5 separate regions of the Homo sapiens genome follow, and all the other regions are linked to region 1. Evidence: promoter capture Hi-C in 16 types of primary human blood cells and fetal thymus (Javierre and others, 2016). All regions are on one chromosome and are shown on one strand. The core of a region is centred on a gene start or on the middle of the fragment in contact, and the rest is flanking DNA. Distances in the headings are between cores, read along the strand shown. Region 1 holds the start of NME1 (NME/NM23 nucleoside diphosphate kinase 1). Region 2 has its middle 93 kb from the start of TOB1-AS1. Region 3 overlaps SPAG9 (sperm associated antigen 9). Region 4 has its middle 34 kb from the start of TOB1-AS1. Region 5 overlaps SPAG9 (sperm associated antigen 9).

The links. The method cuts DNA at HindIII sites, captures the fragments that hold promoters and counts their contacts. A CHiCAGO score of 5 or more calls a contact.
Region 2: a contact is called between a fragment that was not itself captured here and the fragment with the promoter of NME1 in region 1, in 5 of 17 cell types (neutrophils, monocytes, M2 macrophages and 2 more). The highest score is 11.0, in neutrophils.
Region 3: a contact is called between a fragment that was not itself captured here and the fragment with the promoter of NME1 in region 1, in 12 of 17 cell types (M2 macrophages, neutrophils, naive CD8 T cells and 9 more). The highest score is 18.4, in M2 macrophages.
Region 4: a contact is called between a fragment that was not itself captured here and the fragment with the promoter of NME1 in region 1, in 5 of 17 cell types (total CD4 T cells, M0 macrophages, neutrophils and 2 more). The highest score is 7.0, in total CD4 T cells.
Region 5: a fragment that was not itself captured here is called in contact with the fragment with the promoter of NME1 in region 1 in 17 of 17 cell types (naive CD8 T cells, activated CD4 T cells, total CD8 T cells and 14 more); the score reaches 42.5 in naive CD8 T cells.

The regions. Positions count from the first base shown.
Region 1 is chr17:51,152,222-51,154,921 of GRCh38, reverse strand. It overlaps NME1 (NME/NM23 nucleoside diphosphate kinase 1), which reads right to left and starts at 1,363. Exons shown (of 5, transcript NM_000269.3): 1 at 1,260-1,363. NME1-NME2 (NME1-NME2 readthrough) reads right to left here and starts at 1,363. Exons shown (of 9, transcript NR_037149.2): 1 at 1,260-1,363; 2 at 478-697. RefSeq lists enhancers at 1,093-1,512, 1,296-1,827, 851-2,050. The HindIII fragment of the contact is 18,411 bases long and covers 78-2,700 here.
Region 2 is chr17:50,958,089-50,960,893 of GRCh38, reverse strand. No RefSeq gene overlaps it. Among named protein-coding and RNA genes, the nearest start is that of TOB1-AS1, 93 kb to the right of the region's middle. The HindIII fragment of the contact is 1,194 bases long and covers 786-1,979 here.
Region 3 is chr17:51,022,441-51,025,155 of GRCh38, reverse strand. All of the region lies in intron 6 of SPAG9 (sperm associated antigen 9), which reads left to right. Among named protein-coding and RNA genes, the nearest start is that of SPAG9, 97 kb to the left of the region's middle. The HindIII fragment of the contact is 6,346 bases long and covers 1-2,715 here.
Region 4 is chr17:50,899,545-50,902,244 of GRCh38, reverse strand. No RefSeq gene overlaps it. Among named protein-coding and RNA genes, the nearest start is that of TOB1-AS1, 34 kb to the right of the region's middle. The HindIII fragment of the contact is 4,004 bases long and covers 1-2,700 here.
Region 5 is chr17:51,001,374-51,004,073 of GRCh38, reverse strand. It overlaps SPAG9 (sperm associated antigen 9), which reads left to right. Exons shown (of 30, transcript NM_001130528.3): 13 at 2,229-2,359. Among named protein-coding and RNA genes, the nearest start is that of SPAG9, 120 kb to the left of the region's middle. The HindIII fragment of the contact is 1,840 bases long and covers 355-2,194 here.

The DNA.
Region 1 (2,700 bases), core at 114-2,613:
CTGTGTACCAAACACTGCGGTGGAACTAGGATACAGGATGTTAAAAACAAGGCACTATCTTTCTCAATAATCAAGCTTGGGAGAAACTACACTGATGAAAAGTTTTACTAATGTGAAAGTGATGTCCGGTACAAAGCAGTAAGAAATAATAGTTTGACTTAATGCCACAGCCATAGCATTAGGGGTTTTAGAGAATATATCTTTACAACCCCCTTCATTTTACAAATGAGGAAACAGGACCACAGCACCAGAATGAAGGCCAAAACCCAGCATTCCCAACCCATTAATCCATTCTTGTAATGTTATGCTACACTTTACAATGCAAAGAATATTTTGACTAGCCAATAAACGGTGGGGTGTGGGAGAACTACAGACATTAGGAATATCTGATACGGGACATCATACTGAAAGGAAGCCTAGAGAGTAACTATTCCGTCCAGATCCCTCATTTTACAGAAGACTGCGCTCATGACCTACCCTGTATCACAGCTTGAGATAGGAGGCCCCTCGCCTTGAAAGACGATCCCTAAAGTAGACAGTAGCACCATCTCTTGGCCCCATCTTCCTGTCCTTTAGTTAACCTCTTCTTACAGCATCTTAGCACTGTAGTCCAATTTTCTGTTTGTGTGTCTGCCTCCCCTGCACACCAGGCTGACTTAGTCCTGTGTAGAGACTCTATGGTACCTAGCCACAGGGCCTAGCAGTCAATAGGAGCAAAGAAAATCATTTATCACCATTCTGCAACTTCCAAAAAAAAAAAAAGAGAGAGAGACAAAGCCCAAAGACTGCGGAGAATCGCACGATGGGGTGCGGGGCAAGCATAAATTGTCCAGGAGAAAACAGGACTAAAGCGCCAGAAATACACCCTAAAAATGTCCCTCCACATCGGTCCCGGTGACACAACAGTAAGCACTCAGTGCTTGCTGAATGAATGACACACACACCCGTCATTTATTCAGCAAGCACTTACAGAGCGCCAACTCCGTGCCCGGCACTGCTCTCGACAGACACAAATAAGGCACAGCCCTGTCGTCGCGGCCTGACGAGAAAGGCGGCCACCGACAAAGGCGAGTCCACGTGGCGTGGGACGTGCGCCGACCGGTCTGCACTTGTCCACAGGCGCTCCCTGCCCCTCCTCCCATCCGATCCTCCTCGCCGCCTCTTAGAGCTGAACTCATCTCTTCACTAACTCCTCACCTAACCCACTCCCGCGACTACACTCCTTTCTTTTTCCTCTCAGGATCCCGAACACCTCTTACCCTTCCAGCTGCTTAGGTTTGAACTCCGGCTGCAGCCGCCAGCACCCGAAACGCGCCCGGGACCCACGTGGTTCGCAGCACTTGCACGCACGGAACGCTTCTGCGCAGATCCGCTGCCGGAGAGCCCATTTTGCAGAACACCGCTCGCCCACGCTTCCTCTTGGGAGTAGGCAGTCATTCTAGGGAACAACTTTCTGCAGTTTAACTTCCGGCGCTAGCTTTTTCAGACCTTTCCGGTTAGCTGCTTGCTTTCTTCTCTCCACCCCCGGGTTCTCTGACTCACTTCCTTCGTTCGCGAGCAAATTGGCTTCCCGAGAGGTGGCGCTCACACGTTGCGTGAAGTCCAAAGAGTGCCTGACCTAGAAGTAGACTTTTCGCTCCCGCTTTGTGTTTATTCACCTTTTCTAGCCTGTCAAGCAAAAAATTTTGAGTACCTACTACGTGGACGCATTATTCTAGGCCCTAGGGATAAAACAGTATGCTCTCTTGGAGCTTCTGGGAGGGATGGGAGTATAGGAAAACAAGAAGCAAATAAGCAAATTAATATGTAATAGATCGCATTTTGTAAGTGCTGTGAAGAAAAGGCCAGAGAAATCTCTGAGTAAGTGATAATAGAATAGACCTGCATGAAGTGAGGGAGCCAGCCCAGTGATTCTTCGAGAGCCAAGTATTACGGTGGACATCGAGTGGTGGAAAATGCCGTTAGAATAGAGCCAAATCTTATGTTGTGAGATGCTAATACAGATTTTGCACAAGGCATGACATCATCACTAACAAAAAAACATTCCCACTGCTCTAAGGGGAAATGAACGGGGGAAAGGTACAAAAATGGAATCAGGAGCCGTTTCAACAAATGATGCTGGAGCAATTGGACGAATATAGACCCAAAGAACCTCAACCTAAACCTCTCACCTTATACAAAATTTACTCAAAATGAATCATAGATTTAAATGTAAAACAATAAATCACTTATGGGGAAAAAAAAAGTTAAAAAAAATCCTCAGGACCTAGGGCCAGGCAAATAGTTTTTAGACGACACCAAAAGACCAATCTATACAGGGAAAAAGTTGATAAATTGGAACTTACTGAAATTTAAAACTTTTGGCCGAGCGCGGTGGCTCACGCCTGTAATCCCAGCACGCTGGAAAGCAGCGGCGGGAGGATCACTTGAGCTCAGGAATTCGAGACCAGCCCGGGCAACATAGTGAAACCCCGTCTCTACTAAACATACAAAAATGAGCCGGGCGTGGTTGCAGGCGCCTGTAGTCCCAGCTACTCGGGAGGCTGAGGCAGGAGAATCGCTTGAACCCGGGAGGCAGAGGTTGCAGTGAGCCGAGATTGCGCCAGGGCACTCCAGCCTGGGTGACAGAGCGAGACTCGGTCTCAAAAAAATAAAAAATAAATAAAATAAATAAGTAAAATTTCATTATTCTCCTGTTTT
Region 2 (2,805 bases), core at 133-2,632, 190 kb after region 1:
TAAGGACCACTCCTGCTTGCGAGTCCATTGTCGCCCAGTCCCTCATGAGGCCCAGATAGCCAGTGGGTAGGATTGGATTAATTAGAATTTCCAATTTATCAGAATGACACTATACAAAAGAAGCCACATAGTTTAGCTCCTTGCTTTTAACCACAGAACATTCACTCCCACCCACAGACATAAAGGAGTTACGGAGCTGGGCGCAGTGGCTCACACCTGTTATTTCAGCACTTTGGGAGGCTGAGGCAGGCAGATCACTTGAGGCCGGGAGTTTGAGACCAGCCTGAGCAACATGGTGAGACCCCCATCTCTACAAAAAATTTTAAAAATTAGCTGAGTATGGTGGTGTGGACTTGTAGTCCCAGCTACTTGGGAGGCTGAGGTAGGAGGATCACCTGAGCCCTAGGGAGGTTGAGCCTGTCTCCAAAACATAAGAAGTTATAATTTGATTTGAAGCACCAAAGGAGAAGTGGACCAAATAAGCCCCGGCTCCGTGGGAACAGCGACTTCAGTTAGAAGCTGCAGTTCTCAGCTAGGCTGGGAGAGAGAGGCATGGCCAGAATCACCCCGGGAGCTATTCACAGAATAAACATTTTTTTCTTTTTCTCTCCTCTCAAGAATATCAGACTCTATTGGGGAACATGGGGAAACAATTACCAGGTGATTCTGATCCTCCCATTGGGAACATCTGCCCAAGAGGAACTCAGGCTGGGCACGGTGGCTCACACCTGTCATCCCAGTGCTTTGGGAAGGGAGGTGGGAAGTTAATTGCTACATTAAAAGCTTAAAGGAAATATTTTATTTCCTATTAGTCTGTATTCACGTGTCAGGGCTATTTCCTGATTTTTTTTTTTTTTTCTAGAAAAAGCCATAACCATTTAGTTGTTATCATGCCTAGCTTGCATTTGCATAACATCTGATAGTTTTTTCTGAAGTATTTAGCCTATAAATTCATAGTTGATCTTCATGGAAACCCCCTTTTTAGAGTGTTACAGCTTTCAGATGATCCAGAGGCCTAACCACAGATGTGGCCTTGCCCACTGGTAAAGAGGTCCGACTGAGACAAGTAAAGGCTCAGGTGCCTCAGTGGGCGGTACAACAACTGAACACTGGAGGCTACTGCAGGTGTGTTGGGACAAGTGCCACATCTCAAATCAGGAGACTTGGGTTTGAATCCTGGATCTCCTGTTTCCCAGTTTTGTGACCCTTCAGTCACAGTTTCCTTACTGTCAGAAGAGTAACACCCCCAAGGGTTCTTGCCACCTGGCCCTGCTAGGCACTCAGTAGCAGACCTGAGGTTCCTAGATGCCAGGTGTCTGAAGATGACTATGACACTCTCAAGGAGACTGGGCTAGTCAAGGAAAGCAGATGCGGAAATGGTGACGTGATCAAGTGCTGTGGCTGCATATTAGAAGCAGTAGTTGAACAAATGATGTAGGTATGGTATCTACTTTGTAATGTGATAAAAAGAAAAACTGCCTGCAAGTCCTGTTGAATGCAGAATATTCTTATCTCTATTCTATTTACCAGGGTTCCAGGCCATGTCTGTCCTAACAGAACTGTGTTAGGAAGCAGGGGTCGCTTGGGCCTATTGGACCTTCTGGGGAATACTGTTCTCTGTTGTCCCACCCCACCCCCCCCCCATTTTAAGGAAAAGGAGTATCCCGTGAAAATTAAACACAAGATAATTCATACTCTCTTTTGCATCTAAGAGTTAATTTCATTCCTATGCAGGCACATTGAGGGGCATACTGAAGCATGAAAGAGTGGTAAATTTCACATTTTCAGATGTCCTCAAAACATTTATTCAGTATCTGTTGCTCATAATGCTTTATGACAATAATTAAACTCACAGTCACTGCATATAAGTGGGTAGAGCAGATAAAAAGGACCAAATAAGATATTAGCATCATCAGATGTACAATGGTGTGGAACAGTGGCAAGGATGGTCGTATGCTTCTCTACATGATTAAAAAGCTTAGCATCACTCCTTCTAAGCAAGAATGCAAAATTCTGGCTCATATATCACACCAGAGGGGTCTTTGGGAGAAAGGGCTGTCACCTTGGGGTTCCTGAAACATGGCTTTAATGTGAAGTGGGATTAAGATTTTTTGTAGGACGTCTCAGGTACAGAGATACCCAAAGAGACTGGAATGGTGTTTCAGAAACTTGGATTTCCTCATCAGTTGTATTGTCATGATGGTCTCTCATTCACAGGATTGTTGGAAAGAACCAATGAGATCACATAAAGATGTAGTACTCGACAGTTAACAGATACTTGTATGCTTCCCCCACAGAGGCCTCGATTTATTTTCCTGCTATTCTTTCTCATCAAGCTGACTTTCCCCTGCGTTTGGCCAGCCCCAGACAAGTGACAGTGGGTTTGAGTTCCAAATTCAGGAGAGCATTTTCAGCTGTTTGCCTGTTGGTGCATTTTGGCCTGATAGGCTTCTGAGCAAGCAGGCTTTTACTATGTATGCCGTCTACATTTCTGTCTTGGAGAGTTTGCCTGGGGCTGTTCATAAGGAACTAGGAGCAGAAATCTGGCATGTGATTCTTACAGACATCTCAAACGTTGATCCTTCCTGAAGGAGCCTAGCTGGAGAAGAGCAGAAACGGGGCAGATGCCTCTAGGCAGGCCTTGACTGATTTAAAGTCCCAGTCCTGGGCTTCACTCGATTAAGGGTTTATCAGACCTTCCCACCCATATTAAAGCCATGTTTCTGGGACCCCGCAGTGACAGCCGTTTCTTCCCAAAGACCCCTCTGGTGTGTTAAGATGTGAGCTGGAAGTGAGCAACTCAAA
Region 3 (2,715 bases), core at 46-2,545, 130 kb after region 1:
GTAGAGACGGGGTTTCCCCATGTTGGCCAAGCTGGTCTGGAACTCCTGACCTCAACTAATCCACCTATCTCGGCCTTCCAAAGTGCTGGGATTACAGGCGTGAGCCACTGCACCTGGCCAATTTTTTTTTTTTTTTTGAGATGAAGTCTTGCTCTGTTGCCCAAGCTGGAGTGCAGTGGCGCAATCTTGCCTCACTGAAACCTCTGCCTCCTGGGTTCAAGCGATTCTCCTGCCTCAGCCTTTTTTATTTTATTGTGGTAAGAACATTTAATATGAGATCTACCCTCTAAAAATTTTAAGTGTACAATACATTATTATTGTTTTATGTGATGGGATCTTGCTGTGTTGCCCAGGCCATTCAAGCGATTCTTGTGCCTCAGCCTCCGAAGTAGCTGGGATTACAGGCATACATGAAGTATTGTACAATTTTTTTTTTTTTTTTGAGACAGAGTCTTGCTCTTTTTGCCCAGACTGGAGTGCAATGGTGCAATCTCAGCTTACTGCAACCTTTGCCTCCTGGGTTCAAGTGATTCTCCTGCCTCAGCCTCGCTAATAGCTGGGATTACAGACGTGTGCCGCCACGCCCGGCTGATTTAGAGACGGAGTTTCTCCATGTTGGCCAGGCTTGTCTCGAACTCTTGACCTCAGGTGATCTGCCTGCCTCGTCCTCCCAAAGTGCTGGGATTACAGGCATGAGCCACCACGCTTGGCCAAAGTATTGTACTCTTAACATGGATATGCTATTTTATTTTTATATGTTGTGTAAAATATATTGTACAATATATTATAATTAATATGTACAATATACTGTAATTAATAGTGATACAGTATTGCAACTGCCATTAAAATGATGTTGACATCAGTGTGTAATTTTATCACTAATGCTTTTCCTTTTTTGGAGAGAGTCTCGCTCTATCCCCCAGGCTGGAGTGCGGTGGTGCGATCTCAGCTCACTGCAACCTCTGCCTCCCGGGTAGCTGGAATTACAGGCACCTGCCACCATGCCTAATTTTTGTGTTTTTAGTAGATTACGGGTTTCGCCATGTTGGCCAGGCTGGTCTCAAACTCCTGACCTCAGGTGATCCGCCTGCCTGGGCCTCCCAAAATGTCGGGATTTCAGGCGTGAGCCACCGAGCCTGGCTGCTAATGCCTTTCGTATTGTATTTTCAAATTTTCTATTTAGAAAAATCGGCTGGGCGCAATGGCTCACGCCTGTAATCCCAGCACTTTGGGAGGCTGAGGCCAGCAGATCGCTTGAGGCCAGGCATCTGAGACCAGCCTGGGCAGCGTGGCAAAACTCCGTCTGTACCAAAAATACAAAAAATTAGTGGGGCATGGTGACGCACGCCGGTAATCATAGGTGCTCAGGGGACTGAGGCACGAGAATCGCTTGAGCCTGGAAGGTGGAGGTTGCATTGAGCTGAGATTATGCCACTGCACTCCAGCCTGGGTGACAAGAACGAGACTCTGTCTTAGAAAAAAAAGAAGAATTTCATGTACGCCTGGAAAAATACGATTTACTTAAATATTTCCCAATTATTTGCAGAGGAGCTAGAGAGATTATTTATTGATAATCGGTGACTCTTTATTGCCTTTTAAAAAAATTGTGACTTTCTCTGGGCAAATTTATTTCTTAACCAATTTTTAAAGTACTTTAGAATAAATTACTCAATTAAAATTTCTTTTAAATTACTTCTATTTGTAGGTTGAACTTTCTGATGTTAGCCAAGGTGGATCTAAAGCTACCACTTCAGCATCAATAGCTAAATCGATGTGGCAATAATTCCTGCTGATACTCCCTTAAGGGAATTATATATAGTATATATAATTTATAATTAAAATATTATAAATTAATAAATTATAAAAATATATAATTATGTATTATAATTATACTAATAGTTACTATTATAATAGTTATAAATTATAAAAATATATAATTATGTATTTAGAATTATACAAATAGTTACTATTATAATAATAGTTAATATTTTAAATTCTTAGTATGTGTGAAACACATTGCTAAGCCATAATGTAGAATAACTTAATAAGAATCTTAAGAAGTAGATACTGTTATCTATATTTTACAGATGATAAAACAAAGGTTTAGAAAGAATACATTACTTACCCAAGGTCATACATTTAGTGAATGATAAATTCACTTAATTTACCCTAACCCTGATTTATTATTATTATTATTATTATTATTATTATTTTGAGATGGAGTTTCACTCTTGTTGCCCAGACTGGATGCGATCTCAGCTCACTGCAACCTCTGCCTCCCGGGTTCAAGTGTTTCTCCTGCCTCAGCCTCCCGAGTAGCTGGAATTGCAGGCATGCGCCACCATGCCCGGCTAATTTTTTGTATTTTTAGTAGAGACAGGGTTTCTCCATGTTTGTCAGGCTGGTCTTGAACTCCCGACCTCAGGTGATCCGCCTGCCTCGGCCTCCAAAAGTGTTGGGATTACAGGCGTGAGCCACTGCACCCGGCCTATTGTTATTATTATTATTATTATTATTATTATTAGTGGTGGTGGCTGTAAACTTTTTGTCAGTTTCTCTTTTCTTAAAACCTGGGTGCTCCAAAAGAACTGCTTCATTTTTGATAGCCACTGGACAATTGTTTATAATTATTTTGGAGCTGCAAACCCCTTTGAATATCTGATAAAAGCTATGATTCTTTTCCCAGAGAAATACATTGTACACAAATTTTTGCAT
Region 4 (2,700 bases), core at 79-2,578, 250 kb after region 1:
GCAAGATACCGCCAGCCTCAGCATGTTTTAAACAGATGAAATTGCCCTGGACTATCAAAAGTTTGCCTGGGATGATAAGCCTGTGACATTGCCCCAGTCTGAGCTATCAAAACAATATTTAATCCTGGATTAAATATTGTTGTTACTGCTATTTATTTTATTCAAAGATTGAAAAATAGCTGTGAGGTGCTGAATTTGATACAGGCAGGAAGTCTTGTTAACTAACCCTTATTCCAAGTTGGCTTAAGCCAAACCTGTGCTGTCCAATATGGTAGCCACTAGCCAGATGTGGCTATTTGAATTTAAATTACTTAAGTTAAAATTCAATACCATGAATTTAGTTCCTTCACTGCAATAGTCATATTTGAAATGCTCAATCGCCACATGTTGTTAGTGGCTACCATATTGGACATGGCAGATATGGGACATTTCCATCGCCACGTAAAGTTTTATTGGAGAGTGTTGGTTTCAACACTTAGCCACATATACAGCAGCAGCTTTATCACATAGAACATTTAGAACCTTATCACCTAGAACATCTATATATGGGCCTTATCTGGGATAGACCTTAGAGAAAAAAAATTCAGAGATACGATCCCTGTCCAAAATGCATCTGCAAATCCAGAATGACACTGACACACAGGATTTAAGAGAGTAGAGGACCAATTTCAGACCAAGCAATGATGGACGTGTAAGGGCAAGAGAGAGACACAAATTCAAAGAGAAGGAAACTGCATGTGCAAAGGCAAGAGATGTGAGGGGCTGGCTGTTTGGGGTTGTCCTGGAGTGCTGTAACAAGGAGATATTTGTACTTTAGGATGGTTACTTTGGAGACAGTGAGAGGGCCATGGGAGACCAGGAGGACCAAGGAATAATCCAGAGGGAAACTGAGTTGTCCTTGAACTAAAGCCTGGGCAGTAGGGGTGGAGAGAAGCAGTCAGATCTGAGAGACCTTGGGTCCAGCCTGGATGGGGTAGGTGGGGAGGAGCATGCACTATACCTGGATGGTTCAAGGAAGAGCTGGGACATCTGGGATCAATTGAATGCTGTGGGCTCTAAATTAAAAAGGCTCCACCAGGAAATACCCCAAATGGCTGGTTTCTAGAAGATCAAGGTTGCCAACGCTGACTCCTTCCAAATCATGAAGTATGAGGTTCTGTGCGACTTCAGCCTTCCCTTTGAGTCAATGAGGCAACAAACCTATTGCTGGAAAATGGCGTCCTCCAGGGAGGGTGTCGTGGGGGGCCCCGGGCTCAGTATAGCACAGAATGCACAGCCCTTGGTTGTCCAAACTCTCCACTTGACTTTATTTATAACCCTAATTACACCCTCCAGGAAGAACAGTTGCTGATCAACCCAGTTACAAATTAAAGTTAATAAAATGAAGACAGCAATGAATGGCTGCTGCCCAAGCTGCCAAGGGCTCCGATCAACCCCAAAAGGAGACTGCGGTGCTCCCAGGACTCCAGCCACCAGTGTCCTCATTCACATGCTTGCCGTGGAACCCCCCCCTCCCCTCCCAGCTCGCCTCCCTCCCCTCAGTGGCTCAGTCCACCTGTTGTCATCTCCCATCAGGGATCATCAGGCTTCAGGTTCTCCAGGTTCAGAAACTCATGCCATACCCAGTTGGTCCCCAACCCAGCCTTCTCCCGCCACTACTGCCTCCCCAAGCGGTCACATCAGTTGTCGGTGCCACTGTGTGAAATGAAGCTGCTGTGAGCAGAGCTGTAAGAATCCAAGGACAGGAAACAGGGCCTTCACCTCTTTACTCCTCTCCAGCTCTCTTTTTTCTCTTTGCAGCTCCCTTTCTTATTCATTTCCTGTTATCTTTTTCTCTACCCATCTCCCTCACCCTGTGGCTGACCTTGTCCACATGCCCTGAATGTCCTGAGAGGGGCCCTGAATTCCACCGGTGTCCCAGATGGTCGAGCGGCACTGGCTGCTTCGTTCAGAAGCACGGGCAGCTTCAACGCAGCCTCCAGATTCTGCTGACCCTGTCCATTCCTTTTTCTTTCTAAAGAGAGGAAACTGGAGAGGGAGAGTGGGGGACAATCCTCTCCTCACAGGCCCTGCTCTCTGTGTACTTGGCCCCTCGCTCTACCTCCCTCCGTCTCCTGCAGCTTGCCTCCTGCAGAAACAATTACAGATAGTCAATCTTCATGCCTTGCAATCCACAGCACACCCAGATGAACTGATGCGGGTTATCTGGGAGGATGGAAAAGGATGTGATGACTGGGCCACTTCTCTGCAGCATGTAGAAACCAGTGCACTGGTTAGAGGGCTACTTCTGACCCTCTTTGCCAGCCCCTATAACCCGAGTACCATGCGCATACCAGCCATCAGAGAAAACAGCGAGTTCCCTGGGGTTTAGGATAATCATCCCTGGATATTCTGGCTTGTTCTTGTCTCATATCTGCCCAGCTTTAAACTCTTGGTTCTTGGTTGAGCACGGTGGCTCATGCCTCTGATCCCAGCACTCTGGGAGGCGGAGCTGGGAGGATCGCTTGAGCCCAGGAATTCAAGACCAGCCTGGGCAACGTAGGGAGACTCTGTCTCTACAAAAAAATTTAAAAACTAGCTGAGTGTGGTGGTGCACACCTGTAGTCCCAGCTACTTAGGAGGCTGAGGTGGGAAGATCGCTTGAGCCTGGGAATTTGAGGCTGCAGTGAGCTGCGATTGTACCACTGTGCTTAAACCTGG
Region 5 (2,700 bases), core at 25-2,524, 150 kb after region 1:
TTTCCTCAGTGGCATGTTTTTGAGATTCATCCGTGTAGTACAGTGCTGTAGTTATCATTCATATTCACTACTTTATGATATCCCATTGAATGAATAGTCACAATTTATGTATTTATTTTCCTGTTAAGGAATATTTAGTTTGTCTCAGCTTTTTACAATGCTGTTGTTACAAACATTACAGTAGAAGTCTCCAGGTGGGCAGGAGCAGTAGCCTTTCCAGAGTACATACCTACTAGTGGGCTTGCTGTGTTATAAACTTAAGATCTTTATCATTTGTTGTTTAACTTTATTGAAAGGAGAGGCCCAGTTTCTATAACAGAACAACAAAGGAGGAGGACTGCTAAGGGCTAAGCTTAGTGTCTTTCTTATGTCCCAAACCTTTCAGCTTTGATCCAAAATGTGGATAATGAAAGCCTATAGGACGTTGACTTGAGCCATGTTCCCTTGAGGTCTTACCCCTGTGCTCACTCTATATTCACATACTCTGTCTAAGAGTAATTCTGGCTAATACAGTTGTCTCCATCTGTTTGCATTTATGTTGGTATTTTAGCGACTCTTATAGTTGAGTACCTTGGTAACTAGGTAATAAGTTTACCCTTAATGCTGGTCTTGGGTGAGTATGTGGTTTGGTAATTTGAGATAAATGGAACTAACTTATAACTATTTTCTGAGTGACGATTGTTACAGAGCATGAATTAAAATAATGGTAGAGCAACATTTTTAGGTGAAACTTACAATAGTGTATTAAATCTATGTAGATAACAATTTTGGTTTTAGTTTAAAATCTGCACTATCCTTTATTTTTATTTTAGTATTATTACTATTTTTTAGAGACAGAGTCTTGCTCTGTCACTCCTCCAGGCTGGAGGAGTACAGTGGCAATCATATCCCACCACAGCCTTGAACTCCTGGGCTCAAGTGATCCTCCTGCCTCCGCCTCCCAAGTAGCTGGAACTACAGGTGCATGCCACCCCACCTGGCTATTAATTTAATTTTATTTTTTGTAGAGCCAGGGTCTCACTATGTTGCCTAGGCTGGTCTTGAACTCTTGGCCTCAAGCAATTCTATGCTTTTTTTTTTTTTTTAACTTCAGCCTCCTGAGTAGCTGGGACCAAAGTTGTGCGCCACCCCATACGTGGCTAATTTTTTATTTTCTGTAGAGATGGGATCTCACACCACATTGCCAAGGCTGGTCTCAAATTCCTGGGCTCAAAGTGATACTCCCAAAGTGCTAGGATTATAGGCGTGGACCATCGTGCCTGGCCCTACTGTTTGTTTTTGTTGTTGTTTTTGTTGTTGTTGTTGTTTTGTTTTTTAAAGACAGGATTGCACTCTCTTGCCCAGGTTGGACTGCAGTGGTATGGTCATGGCTCACTGCAGCCTTGACCTCCCAGCTGAAGCAATCCTCCTACCTCAGCTTCCCAAGTAGCTGGGACTACAGGTGTGTGCCACCACTCCTGGCTACAGGGTTTTACTATGTTGCCCAGGCTGGTCTCAAACTAAGCTCAAGCATTGTACCCGCCTCAGACTCCCAAAGTGCCGCGACTACAGGCGTGAGTCACTGCGTCCAGCCCCCTACTATTCTTTTTATTTTTTAGCTTTATTTTTTATATATTTTTAAGAACCATGAGAACAGACCCACACTACTCTTTATGATTTCTTTATAATATGTTCAAATATCTGTGTATATATATTCAGAAATTAAATTGCTGCCTTTTATCTTTGTAGTCATGAGTGATTATTTAAATCTCTTTGTTGGCTGGGCACAGTGGCTTACACCTGTAGTCCCAACACTTTGAGAAGCTGAGGCAGGAGCACCACTAGAGTCCAGTATTTCAAGATGAGCCTGGGCAACATAACGAGACCCTGTCTCTACAAAAAAATTTAAAAATTAGTCAGGCGTGTTGACATGTACCTGTAGTCCAAGCTACTCAGGAGGCTGGGGTGGGCAGATTGCTTTAACCCAGAAGTTCCAGGCTGCAGTGAGCTATGATTTCACCACTGCACTTCAGGGTGGGCAACAGATCAAGGCCCTGTCTCAAAAAATATATTTTTTTAAAAAAAAGTCTTTGTTGATTTTGTTTTTATAAAGCCATTTTTCTTTAAATGATCTACTAGATTAAAAATTAAGGAATGCTTAAAAACTGAAAGATTTTGCATAACTCTGAGATGAACACCAAGACATTTATAAGCTTCCAGAATGATATGTCATTTTCTTGTCATTATAGAGTGATATTCCCACAGCCCAGAGGAAACGGTTTACTAGAGTAGAAATGGCCCGTGTTCTCATGGAGCGAAACCAGTATAAAGAGAGATTGATGGAGCTTCAGGAAGCTGTTCGATGGACAGAGATGATTCGGTTTGTATGACAAGCGCTCCATTATTTTCCTACTATTATTTTGTAGGTTTGAATATTCCTTCATGTGGAACTTAAGTCCTGCCCTGTAAGATCCAAGCCCCTTTCTCTGTTTACTAGGAGAGACTTTTTAAAGTAACACTCAGAATTAGCAACAGAATGTGATCAAAGGAGGTGCTTTTTGGGCCAGTAAGGGATCTTGGAGGATGTTACTACGACCTCTAAAAGGCAATTATTATTACTTAGGAATGATGGTCATTTTTCAAATATAGAAATCAATACTACTTACCCAGTAATGTCAGGAAAAGATCACAATTTCATATGCAACACAGGAAAATAAATTA